Regions from separate parts of the Homo sapiens genome. Here regions 2, 3, 4, 5 and 6 are each linked to region 1. The links are contacts of gene promoters, found by promoter capture Hi-C in blood cells and fetal thymus (Javierre and others, 2016). All regions are on one chromosome and are shown on one strand. The core of a region is centred on a gene start or on the middle of the fragment in contact, and the rest is flanking DNA. Distances in the headings are between cores, read along the strand shown. Region 1 holds the start of SH3YL1 (SH3 and SYLF domain containing 1). Region 2 has its middle 37 kb from the start of LINC01875. Region 3 has its middle 53 kb from the start of LINC01875. Region 4 has its middle 15 kb from the start of TMEM18-DT. Region 5 has its middle 39 kb from the start of TMEM18-DT. Region 6 has its middle 7.5 kb from the start of TMEM18.

Evidence for each region. Contacts are between HindIII fragments. The CHiCAGO score rates a contact against its expected background, and 5 or more counts as called.
Region 2: a contact is called between a fragment that was not itself captured here and the fragment with the promoter of SH3YL1 in region 1, in 1 of 17 cell types (naive B cells). The highest score is 5.0, in naive B cells.
Region 3: a contact is called between a fragment that was not itself captured here and the fragment with the promoter of SH3YL1 in region 1, in 2 of 17 cell types (total CD8 T cells and naive B cells). The highest score is 5.6, in total CD8 T cells.
Region 4: a fragment that was not itself captured here is called in contact with the fragment with the promoter of SH3YL1 in region 1 in 9 of 17 cell types (naive CD8 T cells, megakaryocytes, total CD8 T cells and 6 more); the score reaches 8.8 in naive CD8 T cells.
Region 5: a fragment that was not itself captured here is called in contact with the fragment with the promoter of SH3YL1 in region 1 in 14 of 17 cell types (total B cells, megakaryocytes, total CD8 T cells and 11 more); the score reaches 18.0 in total B cells.
Region 6: a fragment that was not itself captured here is called in contact with the fragment with the promoter of SH3YL1 in region 1 in 3 of 17 cell types (fetal thymus, naive CD8 T cells and erythroblasts); the score reaches 6.8 in fetal thymus.

The regions. Positions count from the first base shown.
Region 1 is chr2:261,707-265,313 of GRCh38, reverse strand. It overlaps SH3YL1 (SH3 and SYLF domain containing 1), which reads left to right and starts at 1,282. Exons shown (of 10, transcript NM_015677.4): 1 at 1,282-1,330. The coding sequence starts at 1,330. It overlaps ACP1 (acid phosphatase 1), which reads right to left and starts at 367. Exons shown (of 6, transcript NM_004300.4): 1 at 307-367. The coding sequence starts at 349. RefSeq lists an enhancer at 257-306 and silencers at 657-736, 807-1,386. The HindIII fragment of the contact is 12,050 bases long and covers 1-2,908 here.
Region 2 is chr2:581,288-584,713 of GRCh38, reverse strand. No RefSeq gene overlaps it. Among named protein-coding and RNA genes, the nearest start is that of LINC01875, 37 kb to the right of the region's middle. RefSeq lists an enhancer at 930-2,129. The HindIII fragment of the contact is 2,051 bases long and covers 730-2,780 here.
Region 3 is chr2:597,119-600,427 of GRCh38, reverse strand. No RefSeq gene overlaps it. Among named protein-coding and RNA genes, the nearest start is that of LINC01875, 53 kb to the right of the region's middle. The HindIII fragment of the contact is 790 bases long and covers 964-1,753 here.
Region 4 is chr2:660,228-663,677 of GRCh38, reverse strand. No RefSeq gene overlaps it. Among named protein-coding and RNA genes, the nearest start is that of TMEM18-DT, 15 kb to the left of the region's middle. RefSeq lists an enhancer at 2,494-3,069. The HindIII fragment of the contact is 8,201 bases long and covers 1-3,450 here.
Region 5 is chr2:636,760-640,061 of GRCh38, reverse strand. No RefSeq gene overlaps it. Among named protein-coding and RNA genes, the nearest start is that of TMEM18-DT, 39 kb to the left of the region's middle. The HindIII fragment of the contact is 152 bases long and covers 1,477-1,628 here.
Region 6 is chr2:683,211-686,504 of GRCh38, reverse strand. No RefSeq gene overlaps it. Among named protein-coding and RNA genes, the nearest start is that of TMEM18, 7.5 kb to the right of the region's middle. The HindIII fragment of the contact is 1,782 bases long and covers 462-2,243 here.

The DNA of each region.
Region 1 (3,607 bases), core at 33-2,532:
AACGAGAGGGATTCTAGTAGTCGCAAAGAAAGTACCTTGGCTTGTAGGGGCTGTGGCTGCAGATGCCAAGAGCCCCGGATATATGGCAGGCGCGAGGGGACCCAGGTTTAGCGGGCAGGCTGGGCGGGTGCACGGGGCGGATGGGGAACAGGGGCGCTGCGGCACACTCCTAGAACACCCTAGGCCTCCCAGTCCCTGGCCTCCTCCCCCTCATGGTTCCTAGGCCGGCGGCACAACCTACAGCGCACAAGCCCGATCCAACTCTCCAGAGGACGTCAGAACATGAGTAAGTCGGCGCCCTCTTACCCAGACACACAAACAGCACGGACTTGGTAGCCTGTTCCGCCATCTTCCCGCGCGCAGAGGCGCCGAGACACCGCGGCGTTCCGCACGCCGACGCGGCGCAGGCGCACTGCCACCCTCTTGCCCCGCGCGCCTGCGCAGTCCCGCACCAACGCCAACAGGGCAGCGCGTGTGAGAGCCACGCCTGCGCAATCGGCTCCAGTGCGCCTGCGGAGGCGGTCCTATGACGGTAGTAGGACGGGCGGGGAGGGTCCGCGGGTCACCTGCAGGGACTGGGCCGCCGTTCACCTGCAGGGGCGGGGCTGCAGGTTGTCCGGAGGAGGAGGAGCTGCGGGGGTGGGGTCACCTGGAGGGAGTAGGGCCGCGGAAGGCGAGGGGGTGTGTGTGTGTGGTGGCGGGGGTTGGCGGGGGGGAGTCACCTGGAGGGGGCGGGGCTGCGGGTCGCTTGGAGGGGAAGGAGCCGCGGGAGGTAAAGGTTACCTATAGGGGACGGGGCCGCAGGAGAGGGGTACCTGGAGGAGGAAGGGCCGCGGGTCACCTGCAGGGCGGGCTCAGGCCTCGCGGCTCCGCGGGCCGCCCACCTGGGTTGGGGCACAGCGCGAGTCTCGCGCACGTGGCGGGCTGTGGTGCCTGTCGTTCGAGTTCGCATAGAGGGGCTGGGCGGGTCACGCGGGGAACCTGCCTTGAGCCCCGCGGGGTCCACGCCGGACCAGGGCGGCCTTGGGCCTGGGCGCTCCCTGAGACCCCCACCCCCAACACCGTGCTTGGAGCCGCCGCGGGGCTCTGGGCTTTTCGATCTTGAGGACGGGGCGGTTCCGAAGTCCCTGAGGGCGAAGGCCTGAGCGCGGCCCGGCGGGCGCGTGGTTTTTGTCCCGCGAAACGTACACGGCGGGTGTTTTGCGCCGCCTCCTTCGTCACCTGCCGCAGGTACGCCCTCGCTGGGGCCTCCTTGTCCGCGGGGCGGGGCAGCGCGCCTTCCTCTTCCTGGGCAGCCTCGGGACGGGGCGCCGCGGCCGGGCGGGCAGCAGTGAGTACCCGGGGACCCACCTGTCCGGCAGCACCCTCCCCTCTCAAGAGCTGGGCGGTGGTGGGAGGAGGAGGACGGGAAAACCGGCGATGCCTCTGGGGTTTCTAGGTCGCGCGTCTGTTAACCGCAAACCGCCCAAAGTTAAGATAGAGCAGCTTCCAGGACTTTCTTGACCACAGCGATTTTGATTGAAGTTTAGCCACCGTCTTTTCCATTTTTAGAAAAGCTATTCCGAAGTTTGGAATGATGACGATGGTCGTGTTATTTTTAACTTCCTGATATTTGAACGGCGAGGTGTCAGCGACCATCCTTCCGTTCCACAGAAGCGTCTCTGAAGTTTGGGTCGAATGCGCGCGCTTGGAATGTGCGTGGAACCCGCGGCAGGCGCGGGGAGGAGGCCTTGGCTAGGGCGCCGGCGAGGTTCGAGTTTGCCAGCCCCCCAACCTGGAAGAGAAGGGCCAGCCCCTCACACCCGGAAGGGAAGGGCCGGTCCCCCCAACACCTGGCGCCGGGGTCGCGGGGCCACAGGGCGAGCGCGGGGTCGCGGCGAGCACGGGTCCTCTCTGATCGCTGGGCCTTGGCGCTGGCTGCTGAGTTTTTCCTTCTTTAAGGAAGTGTGGAACTGGTCTCAATCGGTTGACCACCTTAAGGAAATAGGATTTACACTGTGGACAGAGATGTGTCCTTTACACTTCATTTGAACCAATATGCCCATGCTCCTGTGGAGGCTGAGTTGGAAAGTGACACGAAGCTGCCCCCCCGCAAGAGAGCAGGTGCTCGGTTTCTCTTCTGCTTACAGGAGATGCATGTCCTGATTTCTTGTTCTCCTAGGTGTTTTTATTGAGATGTAGGGAATATCTGAATTCATAACGACTTAGAAAATCTGTACACACAGTTGAGAGAACAGGTCTCGAGGCTAAGGTGCTGTTTACTCCCGTGGGCTGGCCTGTTATTAAAATACTTGTGCAGCGACTGATGTTTACAAATTACTATGTTGGAGGTTAAAATGATCAAAGTGATAACCTCCATCCTGTCTATCATGTTTGAGGAGAATTGGTTATTTGGTTCACTAATGTTCTGTTTAAAGAAAATTTCTGTAAAACTAGTAAATGTTACCCCTCATCTTTTGTAAGTTAAAAAAAAGTTTAAAATAATGTTTGCTCATCAAAAGTGATTTGATACTTTTGTTCTGTTTAGGAAAACTTTATTCTCAAGAGATTTCTCATTCCGCAGAAATAAGGATCTGGCATGTCAACACAAACATAGGAAGTTGAGGCAGTCAAAGGGAAATAACTGCTACCCTGACTCTGCTGAGAGCCTCACAAGTCCCTGTGCACGCCAGCTTGTTTGCCAGTGAGTGGCGTCATGATAAGACAAAATTCTCTGCTCTGAGACCTAAGCACATGAAGTTTTTAAAAAAATTTTCTCTGAGAAGATCCCATTTTTTACTCTAAAAGATCAGACCAGTGTGGCATGTGTGGAACTGCTCTGTACCAAGATCACACTCTTCAGTTGGAGAAGAGGAAGGGCAGGAATAAATAAAGGGCTTTCCTGTCTCCCGAGGGAGCAGAGAAAGCTTTCGCTGTCCTCTTCCTTCCCCAGCCACAGCCTGGGGTTGGGGGACTGGAAACAAGCTCAGGCTAGCACTTGATGTTCAGACGGTAGTCTGAAAGTTTGACTAGGGAGTTAATGATCTGACCAGAGAGACAGGTTTTTATTTTGAGAACTGACAAGCTTTGTGTCCTTAAAACAAAGGAAGTAGTTAAACCAAGGCCCCAGAAAGGTAAGAATTGACTTAAGAAACAAAGGCCATAGTTGTCAAGCAGTGGAGTTCAAAATGCAGTTTTGTTAATAAAAGTAGCTTAAAGCAACATTTGAAAGCCTCTCTAAAGATTAGATACATACACTTTCTTTTGGCTAAGATTTCTTTAGTTTATTCTAAATATACCTTTAGCAGCATTCAAGTTCCTTTGATCTTAGATGGAATTTTATCAGTTTAATGAGTTAACCTCCATTTCACATAAAGTATAAGGTTTAATAATTTGATTAATATGTAATCAGTAAGAACTTGGAAAACCAAATTTAGTAAGCTTGCTTTCCTGTAAGTATTCCTTTCATAATTAGAGTCCATTGAAGAAAATAATATAAGGGAAGCAAAAGTTTGGGAATCTGAACTCTGGTAAGGAAAGTGGTGGAGAGGGGCCCTTGGGTCTTCTTGCTTTCATTCCTGACCCTCCGTGTACAACTAGATTGGAAACCGTAGTCAGCTTTGTCACC
Region 2 (3,426 bases), core at 506-3,005, 320 kb before region 1:
ACACGGGGCTTCCTGTCAAACTACACTAGAATTTTATTGGAATAACCTTAATAGTAATATGTCTACTTTTAAAACAATATTCAAGAACGTGAATTTCTGTTCCACACACCCATATGTAGACCAAAACACTTACAAGTTGATGCAGACCACGTTAAAAATCAGAGCCCAGGGCATTTTACACGATAAAGCCCGAAAGACATGGAAAAGCTGCTGTATGGTGCTTCCGTTTTGTTTAAATAACTCTGAATAAACAACCTACCTCTACTCATTAGACTAGGCACTATGGTCAGTAGTAATTTCTCTCCTGCTTATTTTTATCTTTAGAATTGCATGTGGCTTCCAATAATCTTTAATCAGAAGTAATGTGATTTGGAATTTAGGAGAATACTATTTTATATATACATATATACACATGCATTTATATATAGGTGTATGTCTGAAGTGACATGATGAAGAAAACACCATCTTTTGAGCAAATACTCAATGCCTCATCTTAAAGGCCAAGGGGGCATTTTTCAGAGTACTCGATGGGAAGACGACCTCTTATCTCAGTGGCCAGTTTCAAGACCGGCTGTAGGGGCCACTAAGAAGGATTTGTTAACAAATGAAGAAATGAAGCCTGACCTAACACAGACGGGGCCTCCCTCTGTGACTTCCTGCTCGCCAAACACAAAAGCAGACGGCTTTCACTGATTTTACACCATTTCTTTTTTGAGGGGGACTAAAGCTTGCTCTGTCGAGCCTTCCCCCAGGAACTGAAAGTAAGTGAAGCCCACAGTTAACGTCCGGGTGGGAGATTTTCCCAGCAACGCGTCATGGGCGCCAGGACCACCGAGGAGGCGCCGCTGCCTTGTGGGTGAGTGGGGACGTGATGGGAACAGGTTCCCTGCGACCAGCAGGGGTCACTCTGAGGGGTCAACACTTATTCAGGCACACACTTTTCTGGTATATTTGTAAAACTCACACCTCTTATTAGGTCTTGTCTTTATATTTTAAAAAACTTGTCTGAAATAGGTGTTTAAAGACTGATAATAATGATATAGTAATATTAAGTTTGGGTTTCACAGTTGAAAAGTTTCTTTCTACTATTTTTATTATTGCATTAGAGAAAATCACCCAAAGCAATAATCAGTTGTAAACATGAATTACCTTCCTCATACAGTCCGGGCTCTAGTTTTCCGATGATAACTCAAATGCTCCACCTACGAAGTCCACACGAGGTTTTGCACTTTTCTTCCAGTGTCAGAATGAATAACCTCACCTAAATAAATATTCCTAAGAAAAGTGGACGGACACATGTGAAAAGTTCCTGTGAACCAATGAAGGGACGCTCTGGACGCTGGAGGTCGAGGCGTCATGCCTGGCAAGCGTGGGCTCGCCACCGTCCCGGGAGAACCTTAGCGGGCACGGCCTTGTTCCCTCTGCTCGGCCGCTCCCTAGTCGTAGGTGCTCTCACTGCCGAGCTCAGGATGACCCAGGAAGAAGAGGGACCGATGGTTCTGAACTTCTATCCGCTCCATTTACAGTCTCAGGAAAAATAAAACACAATAACAGCAAGTGAGCACGCCCTGGAGCAGGATTCCCTGAGCAAGCGCCGCGTGGAGCTTCTTCCTCACACGCTGGCGGCCGCCGCCTGGAGCTTCTTCCTCACACGCTGGCCGCTGCGTGGAGCTTTTCTCACACACTGGCCGCCGCGTGGAGCTTCTTCCTCACACGCTGGCCGCCGCCGCCTGGAGCTTCTTCCTCACACGCTGGCCGCTGCGTGGAGCTTCTTCCTCACACGCTGGCCGCTGCGTGGAGCTTCTTTCTTACACACTGGCCGCCGCCGCGTGGAGCTTCTTCCTCACACACTGGCCGCCGCGTGGAGCTTCTTCCTCACACGCTGGCTGCCGCCGCCTGGAGCTTCTTCCTCACACGCTGGCTGAGGTTCTGTGGGCTGCAAAATGAGGGCTCATGGATTGCTCATGTTAAGAATATTGAAAGAAGGGCTGGAGAATGGAAACGCTTCCGTTTGCCCTGAGTTTCCTGTGGCTGTTAGGGGTTTGACTTCTGCACTGCCTGCTCTCCGTGCCCCTCGCTGCTGCTGGACGCTTGCGGTGTTGTTCTGGTGGTCGAGGCAGCTTGTGCCCCTCGTTGCTGCTGGACGCTGGCGGCATTGTTCTGGTGGTCGAGGCAGCTTGTGCCCCTCACTGCTGCTGGACGCTGGCGGCGTTGTTCTGGTGGTCGAGGCAGCTTGTGCCCCTCACTGCTGCTGGACGCTGGCGGCATTGTTCTGGTGGTCGAGGCAGCTTGTGCCCCTCGCTGCTGCTGGACGCTGGTGGCATTGGCCTGGTGGTCGAGGCAGCTTGTGCCCCTTACTGCTGCTGGACGCTTGCGGTGTTGTTCTGGTGGTCGAGGCAGCTTCCATCAGAACCCGGCTGCCTCCTCCGGCTCACAGCTCAGCGTTGTTGTTCTTTCTAATGAGCCTCAGCGTCTCTCTGCCCTAATTACATTTCACTGTTTGCTAGCATTAACTATTATTTATGTAAATGATTACCTTCTAATACTACTTGCAGTACAGAATTTATTTCAATTAAGGACAGAACTTTTCCTTTCTAAATGTCCCTGTTCTTCTTTCATTTCCAGATACAATGAGCCAATTTCTCGTCACAGCCCCAGGGCACCTTTATGTCATTTTCATCAATGTTTTCTAACTGTTCTCAAGGTTTTTCTGCTTATATAATGCAATTAAAATAGAGTTTTATTCTAATTAGAGAAACATCTGAATAGAAGGGGAAGCTTTAGGAGCTCTGGACAGGGAAGGGATCTGGAACCTTGTCTCAGACCACACTCCTGTTTGTCAGTGTGGAGGCCGAGGCTCACAGGAGTCATGCTGGCCCGGACTACACCCTCCACAGAGGGCTGCAGATGGACACAGAGGTCTCTCCACACAGACACAGGCACTCTGGTCAGATCTTGGGAATTTCTTGCCAAATCAATGGCCCGAGTCTGGCATCTTACGATGGAGGCCGGATGCCTCTGCACAACCGTCGGCTCACAATCCTTAAACTTCCCAACAATGTTTCATCAGCACCACACTCCCGGCTGTGTGCACCAGCTGAGATCCTGGCCCTTACCCACCCTCAGGGCTGGCTTAGCTGCCCTTTCCTCACTGACTGCCTTTGACTGTGTGTCTAGGCCCAGGAAACTTGCCTGACAAATTACAGAGCTCTCCAGAAATAAGCATTCACTTTTATTTTTCTTTAATAATGCTTTATGCTTATACCCATAAATGCAATCATATAAATATGTAAATTACCTTGTTAGGGGTGCATTCCTTATTTTTCTCTTATTTTTTTTCTCTTTTCCATTTTCAATAACCTTTTTTCTCCTTGCCGCCTCCTCTCCCACTCCCTCCTCCAGATAGAAACCTGGCATGTAGACTTC
Region 3 (3,309 bases), core at 109-2,608, 340 kb before region 1:
CAGTTGCAGAATCACCGTGATTCTCCCAGGCAGGGTCAAGAATTCTAGCTCTTAGAAGTTTGCCGCCTGCAAATTCCTAAATCCCCTGCAAGGTAAGAGAGGGACTGGCGGAGCCTGAAGAACGAAGTTACATGTTAATACCTCCATAGGCCTCGTGACCAACAAAAAAGGACTGAAAGTGAAAAAGCGAATCCTGTGTTTGAAGACCTTTGTATATTCAAGTTGTCTTTTCCTTCGTTTCATTTTCTTTCATTTTAACTTTCACAAAAGTCGCTATTTATTACTCATGCACATAAATATCTCTACTCCTGACTCAAGCTGGCAACCTATGGAGATTTAGGGTATTCACGACCCCCAGCAAACAGCAGCGCTCAGCGGAGCAGCTGTCTCTGAATGGAGCTGATGTCTGGGAGTGCTGCACTCCGATGAGCCAATGGAAGTCTCTATCATCTTGAATCTTCACTGTGTTAACTGTGAAGTGCCTGAATCTGGGGGGACTGGGCCCTCACAGCCGCCAGGTGAGGGGGACCCTCTTCCCTCTCCTCTGGGTGAAGAGGTCCCAGCTCACACAAGTCACCCCTGGTAAGAGGCAGAGTCCACAGCAGGACCTGGGTAGAAGCCAAAGGCAACACTCCCTACCCCACACATGGGTTCCTCTCAAGTAAATCACCAGCGGGGCGAGGTGCACACAGCGTCTAGGAAGACAGGACAAACTGTTGTCACCTCCTTCAGCCAGGAGGCCCCACACGGAGCGCCACTGCCTCCACTATCTGATGCCACAGGGCAGACGTCATGTGCTGGTTAAGGGAGGAGAAACTGCGGATCATTTTCCATCTTATTGGAAATCACTCTCTGACACTTTTTCCTCATCCTCACTAAGTACCCACCGAGTATACCAGCAACAGTGTAAAATAAACACAGCTTAAAGAAGTAGGAACCCTTTATTCCTGGGACTTAAAAGCTTGACTATCCACGGTAAGTCGATGACCAGTGCCCATGGCGTGAACAGCTCTGACACCAGAGTTGACAACAAAAACAGGAGTGTTTGCATTTCTGGGGCCTCAAGAAATGGGGAGGTTCTCCCAAGTACACTGACAGGGGTATTGTTCCCCTATTTTAGAATTATTACCCCAAGATCAGCAAATTGAAGTAAGTTGGTTGATCTCACGCCACAGCACCTGTGCTTTTCCAGCAAGGGAGGGATGGAGTCCAATGCAGGAGTCCCCGTCACAGAGAAAACCACTGTGATGGGATGTCTATTTGGGAATTAGGACACAAAGGCAGATGGGATAGGGTGGGGAGTCTACATATTTTTTATTTGGATGCTTTGATGGATTAAAGTTCCAAAACAAGTGTGTATTGGGCAGAGGGCAGTCTGGGCTGTGGTTCTGCTCTGTGAGGCTGGGAGTCCAGGCAGGTCCTGTGTCCACTGGTTCACTTTTACAGCCTGAAGCCCCTCGGCAGGACATCTGCACAGAGGCCTGCAAGTGACTCCAGGGTGCTAATGATGCCCACAAGGCGAAAGCCAGAGAAAATCCCATCGACTCTGCTAACCAGGGCACCCGTGGCCACCAGTGCGGTTTTATCCTGCAAAGAACAAACCAGTTTGCAAACCACGCTTTGAGGCCAGAGGCATGGCGGTACTCACCAGTGTCTCCTGAAGGCTGGAGCCTCCGAGGGTTGATTCAAAAACTGTATTTTCTTATAAAATGTAGTAACATTTGAACCTTAAAAAAGGGCTAGGGAATAAGCTTATCTAGCCTCTCATGTAATTTTGTAACTGAGTGGGATGAAGGCTGAGGAACAAAGGCATCTGGCGCCAGCACCCCTGCTGATCTCTGTCCTCCCGGGGCTTGCCTGTGTTGGGAGTCTCTCCAGCAAAATCAGGCTGCAGAAATGAGATTCTAGTTAAACAAGGCCCACTGTTGCTTTAAGATGAAATGTCAAAGTTTTAAAAAATGTATTAACTTGCTCTTTTGGCCAAGAGATAAACAGATGTACTTCCTTCTACTCCACAGGCATTGAGTTGACAGAGAAGAGCTTGAATCATCAACATGGCGTGAGTGACCACATCCCTCACTCTGAGCCCCACTCCACAGCAGATGACTCTGAATCGCCCCGGCTAACGGCGTGCCCAGCATCCTGATGCTCTGATTAGTCCTGAATCACCCGAGGGCGGGCGGTGCGGTGGCTGGGCTGTCTCAGAGGGCATCGCGGGCTGGGTGGACGAGGCTGGCCCAGAAGAGGGCAACAAGCATTTGACAGGGAGTGGCAGGCTACCATCTTGCCTCTTCTGCAGTTTGCGACACTTAGGGTCATGAGTGTTTTTCCTCACACTAAGGAAGGAGACCACTACTCCTCCTGATGCCCTCCTTCCCCCCACCTTGCCTAGTTCACAAAACAGGAAGAGAGAAAAAGCAAAAAGTTGGAAAAAAACAAAAGTAAGATAAATAGCCAGATAACCTTGGCACCACCACCCGGCCCTAGGAGTTAAAAAAAGTGATAATAATAACATCAACCCCTGACCTAAACTACTTGTGTAAATTCCAGACACTGTATGAAAAAAGCATTGTAAAACTTTCTGTTCTGTTAGCTGATGCCTGTAGCCCCCAGTCACGTTTCCCACGCTTGCTTGATGTACTACGACCCTTTCACGTGGACCCCTTAAAGTTGTATGCCTTTAAAAAGGCCAAGAATTTCTTTTTCAGGGAGCTCAGCTCTTAAGACTCAAGTCTGCCAATGCTCCTGGCTGAATAAAAACCTCTTCCTTCTTTAATCCGGTGTTTGAGGAGTTTTGTCTGCGGCTTGTCCTGCTACAATACAGTGGCCCGAAAGGCAAGGAAACTCCCGCAAGCGTTCAGAAAGGCTGCGGGTTTTTCAGGTAACATTTCTGCAGCCACTGATGTCTGACCCAAAGAGCTCTGAATGCTTGCCAGAGAGATGTGTAGTTCTAATCCCAAAGCCCTGAATGTTCTGATTTCCTCATTAAGACTGACTTAACATGAGCTATTTAGTCAGCTGAGTTATCAACTGAAGAAAGTAACCGGTGTTTCCCACTTATTTTCTTCTGTGGTTGTTTGAAAACAGCCGTGGTGTGGACAGAGTTCATGCAGCCTTGATGGTGGTGTGTCCCCAGCTCCACGCACGCACTAAACCTTTAATTCATTTCAGCATAAATAAGTTAATGAATATGCATACATGAATAAATTAACTGGCATAGTTTTAGTCCTATTGAAGTTTTAAACTCACCAATTTATCCAACTTCTCTGCACTGAGTTTTTATTCAAGTGAACTATTCCAGTCTTGTGA
Region 4 (3,450 bases), core at 42-2,541, 400 kb before region 1:
CTCAGGTTGGGCTGGGATGGGTTTGTGTCTCCCACCAACCCTAGGCCGCACACGGGGCTCTTGGGTGAGTGAGAGGCTTCCCCGCTGCAATCACAGTCCTGAGCAGAACAACAGACCGGAAGCAGCGCGGAGCCTGGGAGTGGAGGTGCAGCCTGGGTGGATGCGGGTTTCCCGGCTGCTTCAAGGGCACACAGCGCTTTCTCATTTCTTACCCTCCCAAGTCTTCACCATTGTCCTGGCAGGTTTATGACCCCCATCCTACAGGGCGTCACCTTTATGTCGACAGCACATTGAAATACGTATGCAATTAGTGGATTTTCCAGGGTAACAGCTGCAAGCTGTTGTGGAATTCTGCACATTAATACGTGGTCATTGTAAAAATGTGTTCATGAGAACTCTTGAGAGGTACTGACATGTCTGACGATAGATTCCGAGTGAAAACACTTCCTGTGATGACCACAGAACATGATCAATTTTATAAGAGCCTTGGTTCTCACTGGACATGGTGATGATGGCCTCGAATTTCAGTTTCCCTTCAGGAAAGGTATATAGGCATACTCGACATAGTTATTTATAAGATCACTGTAAGGATCAAAAGATATGTGTTAGATTCCCTAAACTGCACGTCTGTTAACGGCTTTGGTGGGGCTGGCGATGCGGTGGTGCTGATCTGATCCCCAGAATGATGTGGAGCATACAGAATGCGTCCTGTGCTGCTCACTCCAGGACCAGAATAGAGAAAAGGAAATGTGACATGTAGCTGCTGCGTGAAAGAGATGCCCGGCCCGACGTGGGGCCAGAGTCGTGGATCCTGCACAGGTTGGTCTCCTGAGCTGTGAAAGGGGAACGTCAGGATCTGGGGCCGCATACCTCCTTGGCTCTGCAGAGCTTTTCCAGTTCGTTCCCCGTTCTGTCTGAGAAAGACATCTTTTCCACTAACCCTCCAGAGGGCACCACAGCACCATGCCAGAGGCCCCTGTTTGGCTGCTTGGGGAAAATTTCTGTCACTTATTCAGAAAGAGAAGTCTAATATTTTTGATTGAGGAACGTCACCCGGAGCTGAAGGGAATGAGCCGGGAAGCACAGGGCTTCGGTTTCCTGTGTTCATTTGAATGAGGTTAACCACATCCCAAATCAGTTGTAAAGTCAGTTTTTACTGTCCAGAAACAGACCTAAATACATACACAGGTGAACACACAGAGTCACATGTGCACACATGTGAACACAGAGACACGTGCACACGTGAACACACAGAGACATGCGCACATGTCACAACGCAACGTACACAGTGCAGGTTTACATATACACTCTCACTTGTGCATGTAAGCTCACACTCATGCACATACCCACACGATACATGCAGCAGTGTACTCTCACGTGTGCACACGTGCACACATGTAGGCGCCTGGAGACATCACTGATTTCATTTTTCCGTTACATTAGAAAACACCCATGCTGCACCTGCACCCACACAGATGATGATGTGAATGAATAAGTGCATTTACATGGTCTAGTTTCAGGAATGCTTTTTTTTTTTTTTTTTGAGACGGAGTCTCACTCTGTCGCCCTGGCTGGAGTGCAGTGGCATGATCTCGGCTCACTACAACCTCCACCTCCTGGGTTTCAGCGATTCTACTGCCTCAGCCTACCGGGTAACTGGGATTACAGGCACCTGCCATCACGCCCAGCTAATTTTTTAGTATTTTTAATAGAGTCTGGGTTTCACCATATGGGCCAGGCTGGTCTCGAACTCCTGACCTCAGGTGATCCACCCATCTCGGCCTCCCAAAGTGCTGGGATTACAAGCGTGAGCCCCCGTGCCCGGCCCACGAATGCTTTTTAAAGAAGACCTATCCAGTGAAGTAACATGATGAGAATGGAGGGACTGAGAGGCTGCTCTGTGGGGGCTGTGCTATGATAGGGATGAGCCTCACAAGATGCTGCAGGCCCGAGGAGCTCACCACTTCTGCCTGCTGGACACTGGGAGGCTCAGACACACGAAGAGAAAGGATGAAGGGCCCCACCCTGGCCCTTGACGCGCTGCTGGCCTCAGGAACTACTTTTAAGTAGAGAGTAGAAGTTGGAAGCTGAAGTGATACGCCCTCCTTCGCTTGACCTTATCTGTGGTCTCAGAAGACTCGGGCGGCTGGAAACGTCCACGGGAAATGGGGGCGAGGCTGCACTCTACACCCAAGGCCCACCTGCACCATCCAGGGCCCAGCCTCGGCAGCTCCGGGTGCACAGCAGGTAGCGAGAGCACTGCAGGTAGTGGGAGCACTGCAGGCAGCGAGTGCACAGCAGGGAGCGGGAGCACAGCAGGGAGCGGGAGCACTTCAGGGAGCGTGTGCACTGCAGGGAGCGGGAGCACTACAAGGAGCAGGTGCGCTGCAGGGAGCAGGAGCACTGAAAGGAGTGGGAGCACTTCAGGTAGGTGCACAGCAGGTAGCAGGAGCACAGCAGGGAGTGGGAGCACTGCAGGGAGTGGGTGAACTGTATGAGCAGGTGCACAGCAGGTAGCAGGAGCTCTGCAGGGAGGGGGAGCTCTGCAGGGAGCGGGAGCACTGCAGGGAGCAGGAGCACTGCAGAGAGCGGGTACACAGCAGGGAGCGGGTGCACAGCACGGAGTGGGTGCACTTCAGGGAGTGGGTACACAGCAGGGAGTGGGTACACAGCAGGGAGCGGGTGCACAGCAGGGAGTGGGAGCACTGCAGGGAGCAGGAGCAGTTCAGGGAGCCGGTGCACAGCAGCTCTGTCCTTAGATAGAAGCCCGACTGGGAGACCCGCTCCTCGTTCCCCTGCTCTCAACCGAGGCCCAGCCGACGTCCCTGCGGCTTCTGCCTTACATCCCGGCCCTGCTTCCCGCTCAGCGGCTTTCACCGCTGCCTGCCTCTCCCTGCGGCCTGGCTGAGGAGCAGGTGGGCTCCGCCTCCCATTAGCAGCATTGCCTCCGTCCAGCACAAAGACCAAGACTTGTCTCTGAAAAGCGTCTGCAGCACGCGTGGGAACCGCCGCTCAGCAGCTCTTCTTCTGGCACCCACAGGGCCTTCTGGGATTTACAATGTTTCAAATAAAGAGATAACATGAAAAATAAAATGCTGACCAGTAAATGACGCTATGAGGGCAACCACTGTCTATACTCAAAAAACCTCATGCTGTTTCTATAGTATTACATTTTAAATGTATAGACTTCATTTTTTTAAATCAGTTTTAGGTTTACAGAAAATTGAGTGGAGTTCCAATACTCCATCCAGTCCCAATTTCTCCTGTTACTTACTTATTGGCTTACTGCCCTGCATTTGCTAAAATCAGCAAACGTACACGGACACTCATCGTCCCCCAGAGTAACCCGTCGCTTCCATTAGGCCTCCATCTTGCTGTTGTACTTCCTGTGGGTTTGGACAAACGTGCAATGCTGCGTATCCCCCATGGTAACATCACACGGAGGAGCAC
Region 5 (3,302 bases), core at 303-2,802, 370 kb before region 1:
TCTAAGAGTTGCCATATTTTGTGAGCAGATCCAAAAGGCTCCGTTCCACTGTTTTTCTGTGGCTTGGTGGCCTCCAGCTTCCCTGGCAGTCACAAGCATGGCTGTGGGTGCAGACATGCAATCCTCAACAGCACCTTGGCGGCTCACTCGTTTGATTCTCTGCAGGTGAGACTGCCAATATTCTACAGTTTGTATTCTACAAAATCAGCACCTTGGGAATGATTCCAGCTAATACAGCAGACATTAAAGATACAAGCCCGGTGTCTCCACGGGTGAGACAGTCACGGGGGATGCTGGAGAGAGGGCAGAGCTCTTGGGTTCTTCCTGGCATCCATTTGAGGACTGTGTACTCACAATGTTAACTCACACAGTTGATGTTCTCATTAATTCAAGACCCTAGAACTGCCAGACTGAGAGGAACAACCAGGGTTTCCCCATCAAGTCAATGTCTTAGTTAACCTGTGCTTCTTTATTTTGAGCAAAAGTAGGGATTGTTTTCTCTGGAGATTAGAGGTTCCTAATTTTGTGCACACCTACTGACAGTTCGTCATATCTATACATACGCATATGTGTTCATGGGCCACATAACATTTCGGTAAAGAATGGGCTGCATATACTGAAAATCCCTGCTGCCCAGGACAGATGCAGCCATTGTAACCATGCTAAGGTCCCAATACAACACTTTCCTTACGTGTGGGTGCTGACGCTGGTGTAAACAAACCTGTCGCACTGCTAGTTGTATAAAAGTGTAGCACACACAACTATGTACAGTATGATTAATAATAAATGACTGTGTCGCTCTTTCATGTATCTATTATTCTACAGGGGTTCCCAATCCCCAGGCCGTAAACCAGTACCAGCCTGTGGCCTGTTAGGAACTGTGGCACAGCAGGAGGTGAATGGCATGTGAGTGAGTGTCACTGCCTGAGCTCTGCCTCCTGTCAGATCAGCAGCGGCACTGGATTCTCACAGGAGAATCCAGTGAGAGCCCTGTTGTGAAAAGTGCATGAGAGGGATCTAGGTTGTGCACTCCTTATGAGAATCTAATGCCTGATGATCTGAGCTGGAACTGTTTTATCCAGAAACCATTCCCCTCAACTCTGGTCCATGGAAAAACTGTCTTCCACAAAACCAGTCCCTGGTTCCAAGAAGGTTGGGGACTGCTGCTACACTATATTTTTAGCATTATTTTAGAATGTACCCCTTCTACTTAAAAAAAAAAACTGGTTAACAGTCAAACAGTCTGCGGCAGACCCTTCGGGGAGGATTCCAGAAGAAGGCATTAGAGATGACAGCGCCATGTGTGTTACTGCCCCTGAGGACCTTCCAGGGAACAAGATGTGGAGGGTTAGGGTTAGGATAGTGATGTTGACGATCCTGACCCTGTGTAGGCCTAGGTTAATGTGTGTGTTTGTGTCTCAGATTTTAACAAAAAAGGTTAAAAAAAGTAAAAGTAAAAATAAAATTAAAAAAGCTTATAGAACAAGGATATAAAGAAAGAAAATATTTTTGTACATCTGTACAATGTGTTTGTGTTTTAAGCCAAGTGTTATTACAAAGAGTCAAAAAGATTAAAAACTTAAAAGTTTATAAAGTAAAAAGTTATTTCATTAAGGTTAAGCTAAGCTTAATTTATTATTGAGAAAAGAGAAATATTTGCGATGAACTGAGTGTTGCCTAAGTGTACAGTGTATATAAAGTCAACAGTAGTGGACAGAAATGTCTGAGAGTCTAGGCCTTCACAGACACTCACCACTCACTCACCAACACCCAGAGCAACAACTTCCATCCTGCAAGCTCCTTTCGTGGTAAGTGCCCTATACAGGTGCACCATGTTTATCTTTTATACCATATTTTTACTGCACCTCTTCTACGTGTAGCTATGTTTAGATACACACTCTCCACTGTGTTACAGCTCCCTGCAGTTCCAGCACAGCCATCTGCTGTACAGGTTCGTAGCCTAGGAGCACGAGGCTACACCTTATGGCTGAGGTGTGTCATAGGCTGTAACTTCTAGACTCTGTTCACATATACCCTATGATGTTTTGATGTTTGCACAATGACAAAATTGCCTAACAATGCATTTCTCAGAATGTACCCCCAGCGTTAAGCAATGCATGACTGTACACATAAAACCTATACAACCAGGAATCAAGTGGCCAAGGCTAGAAGCACATGTGTCCAGCCATGCGTAGAAGCAACACAGAGTTTCTACTGACACCGAACTTCACTTGAGTTTCGAGGCCCTGCAAAAGGATGGTCAAGAAGCTCCACCCTCCACGTTCCAGAAATGGTTCCCTGCGAAGATCACCTTCCTCGCAGGTCGTAGAGGAGACCCAGGGGTCCTCTTTCTACCCGGGCAGGCCAAGCTCAGACCTTCCAAATTCCCTGTTCTTGTCTCACAAGTAACTGACCACGGTGGACGAGACACCCACAGTGACGGAGCCATCCAGTGCTCCGTACAGGGAGTAGCAAGCCCTGGCCTGCTTCTCCAAGCGTCTGCTAACCCCAGCCTAAGACCCCTCCCGCTGACCATCTCGCCCATCCTCCCCCATAGGGCGTCGCTCTGGCGGTGGTCATTCCTTCTCATATCAGAGAAGCACATGTCTTCCTGAGTGGGAGACGCTTCGGGGTCTCCTGGCTGGAACCTCTCCCTGTTGAGAGAACCCTTCCTTACCTGAGTTCAGATGTGTTATTTTATTGGACACAGCACCACCTAGATATGTCCTATTTATCTGCAAGGCAAGTGCAAGAAAACCTGCTAAGATAATATGTGTGATGCAATCTGCATATTGCAATGTTTTAGTTTTTTCCCATTTTATAGTCAATAACTTGGGCTTCATTTTCCGTTCTCTAAAATGAGGGCTGAGAAGAGTTAGGCAGCATGTCAGCGCTAGGTGGCGCCCGAGGATTTTTCTTTTAACAAATGATCCCAAATGTTCTGGAATTCGCGGTTCTTCCCGCCCAAAGCGCCGCCGCGTCCAAGGGCGGTTACCACACCGCGTGCCAGGGCGCGTCTTCCCTCCCGTGGGCCTCGCAGCGGTCCGGGCAGGTGGCTGAGGGTGGCCCGTGTTCGTCTTTCCCAGCTTTGTGGAGGTGTAGCTGGGCCTGTGGGCACACGGACGCCCTCCCGATTGCGCTGATGGGCCCGGGGACGGTCCCTGTGTCCCTGGAGCTGACAGAGCCGCCATGCGCGGCCGAGGACTCTGCGGATTCACCCTGTTCCAGGCTGCGCCGACTCCGCTCGCTTCACGTGTGCTGTTTCCTCACAAGTCGGGCCGGACGCGGATACACCCGCCTCC
Region 6 (3,294 bases), core at 103-2,602, 420 kb before region 1:
GGCTACAGGCCCCCATGCAAGTCCAAAATCCAGCAGGGCTGTCATTAAATCTTAAAGCTGCAAAATAGTCTCGTTTGGTTCCATGTCTCACATTGAGGGCATGCTGACACAAGAGGTGGGCTTCCAAGGCCTTGAGTAGCTCCACCTCATGTTTTGCAGGGTTCAGCCCCCACAGCTGCTCTCAAGGACTGGCACTGAGTGCCTGCAGTGTTTACAGGTGCACTGTCAGTGCACTCTCATGCTGCTATAAAGAACTGCTCAAGACTGGGTAATTTATAAAAAAAACAAAACAAAACAGCTTTAATTGACAGTGCAAGCTGTCAGTGGATCTGCCATTCTGGGATCTGGAGGATGGTGGCCACCATACCTATGGTGGCCCTCTTCTCACAGTGCCACTGGGCAGGGACTCTGTGTGGGGGCTCCAAACGCACATTTCCCTTCTGCACTGACCTAGCAAAGCTTCTCCATGAGGGCCCCACCCCTGCAGAAAACCTTCTGCCTGGACATCCAGGTGTTTCCATTCATCCTCTGAAATCTAGCAGTAGGTTCCTAAACCTCAATTCTTGCCTTCTGCACACCGGCAGGCCCTACAGCATGTGGAAGATGCCAAGGCTTGGGCTTGCACCCTCTGAAGCCATGTCCCAAGTTGTACCTTGGCCCCTTTTAGTCATGGCTGGAGCTGGAGTGGCTGGGATACTGGGCACCATGTCCTGAGGCTGCACAGAGCATCTGTGCCCTGCACTTGGCCCACAAAAACACTTTTTCCTCCCAGGTCTCTGGGCCTGTGATGGGAGGGCCTGCTGTAAAGGTCTCCAACAGGTCCTGGAGACATTTTCCCCACTGTTTTGACTGTTAACTTTTGGTTCCTCATTACATATGCAAATTTCTGAACGTGGCAGCTTGAAATTCTCCCCAGAAAATGGGTTTTTCTTTTCTACCACATAGTGTCAGGCTGCAAATTTTTCAAATGCTCTGCTTCCCTTTTAAACATAAGTTCCAATTTTAGATGTTCTCTTGTCTCTAATGTATATGACTATATGCATTAGAAACATCCAGGTCACATCTTGAACACTTTGCTGTTTAGAAATCTCTTCTGCCAGATACCCTAAATCATCTCCCTCAAGTTCAAAGTTCCACAGATCTCTAGGGCAGGGGCAAAATGTCACCAGTCTCTTTGCTAAAGCATAGCAAGAGTGACCTTTACTCCAGTTCCATGTAAGTTCCTTTTCTCCATCTGAGATCACCTCAGCCTGGACTTCATTGTCCATATCACTATCAGCATTTTGGTCAAAACCATCTTCAACAAGTTTCTGGGAAGTTCCAAACTTTCCCACATCTATCTGTCTTTTTCTGAGCCCTCCAAACCTCTGCCTGTAACCCAGTTCCAACGCTGCTTCAATGTTTTCAGGTATCTATAACAGTACCCCACTTCTGGTACGAATTTTCTGTATTAGTTTTTTTTTTCACTCTTTTATATAAAAAACTACCTGAGACTGGGTAATTTATAAAGAAAAGAGGTTTAATTGACTCATAGTTCTGCATGGCTAGGGAGACCTCAGGAAACTTACAATCATGGTGGAAGGTGAAGAGGAAGCAAGGTATGTCTTACTTACATGGCAGCAGGAGAAAGAGAGAGAGTGAGGTGGGAAGTGCCACACTTTTAAGCCATCAGAATTCATGAGAGCTCACGAGACCACCATGGAGGAAATCCTCCCCCATGATCACATCGCTTCCCACCAGGCTCCTCCCCTGACATGTGGGGATTACAATTTGACATGAGATTTGGGTGAGAACACAAAGCCAAACCATATCACCATCCAAAAAATAAAGGAAGCAGCACTGTGTTTTCCATTTACATTACATCAACATGTGCAGAAAATATTTGTAAATAAACAGTGTTGGTCTCATGAACTAAAAAGAAAAGAGATAAAAAGAGGACCCCCTGAGGACAGCAAGATAAACACCTTCATCTTTAGAGGAGGCAACAACATTCGAGTCCTAATGGTTGGTCTTTATTAGGCATGTGCCATGTGCCTGGCACAGAGCTGGGCATTTAAGGCATTTCATCCCAAATCCTTAAAACCACACATTAGAAAAGTATTATTGTCCTTATTCTCACAAAGGCAAGCTGAGGCTTTGATAATCAAAAAACAGTATTCTAAGGTCATTCCAAGTGAGAACTCATATTCACATAAAATCTTCCCTGATCTAAGGTCCATTTTCTTTTTGATATTCCACAAGCTTATAAAATTTGAGAGAAGAAAATGGAAAGAGAACCAAGTTCTGTCTGTGCTCAGTGGTACCCTTGGTGGTGTTGTGGGCCAACTTGTGTCCCCAAATTTATATGTCAGGTCCAAACCCCGCATCTCAGAAGGCTGCAGTGATTGGAGACGAGGCCTTTGAAAGGAAAGTGAGTTAAATGAGCATATAAGGGTGGGCCTCGATCCTACCTGACTGGAGTCCTTATAAGAAGAGAAGATCAGGACAAAGACACACACAGGAGGATGACCCTGTGTGCACATGGGGAGATGTGTCTGCAAGCCAAAGGGAAAGGCCTCAGAAAGAACCAACCTGTCAATGTCTTAATAATGTTAGACTTTTGGCCTCCAGAACTGTAAAGAAATAAGTTTCTGCTGTTCAAGCTGCCCAGGCTGTAGTGTCTCATTATGGTGGCCCAGGAAGTCATACAGTAGTGCAGAAAGTCAGAGAACCACAGCAATTCCTAAGGAAGGACCACTTCACGTGAAGATTGGCATAAACTTCCCTGAATACCAACATCATTACAAGACACATCAGCCTAAACTTATCAACATATGTCAAGATGTGAATTTGCACCAATGAGAAATGTACACTGGGCAGGCTAAATCCTGCCAGCTTCATTCTCTATGAGTGTGTAAATTTCTGAAGATTAATTTTTATGTCAGAGAAACTGCCCTAACAATCAATGAACTCCAAAGACCAATCTGCATATTAAAGCCTCAGGAATAATCCCCTGATTTTGGCTTCTCATCTCAAGCAGGCGTTTCATACTTGTACCATCCATCCTGGGGACTTTTGTCTCTCTGTGATGCCAGGAGAATAGCAGGTACACCTAAGTGAACACAAGGTAAACCATACCCAGCAGGGTAGCCTGGGTCTTTTAATTCAGTAAGAATGAGCTATGATTGCTTTAAGTGGAACTGGAAATTTCATTGCCATTTAACAACTGCATTTAAAATTACACTTGAGTGAGCTAGAGTGCATTACAAACAAGTAGGATGGTAAACCCCAGTAATCACTGTCCAGTGTCTGGGA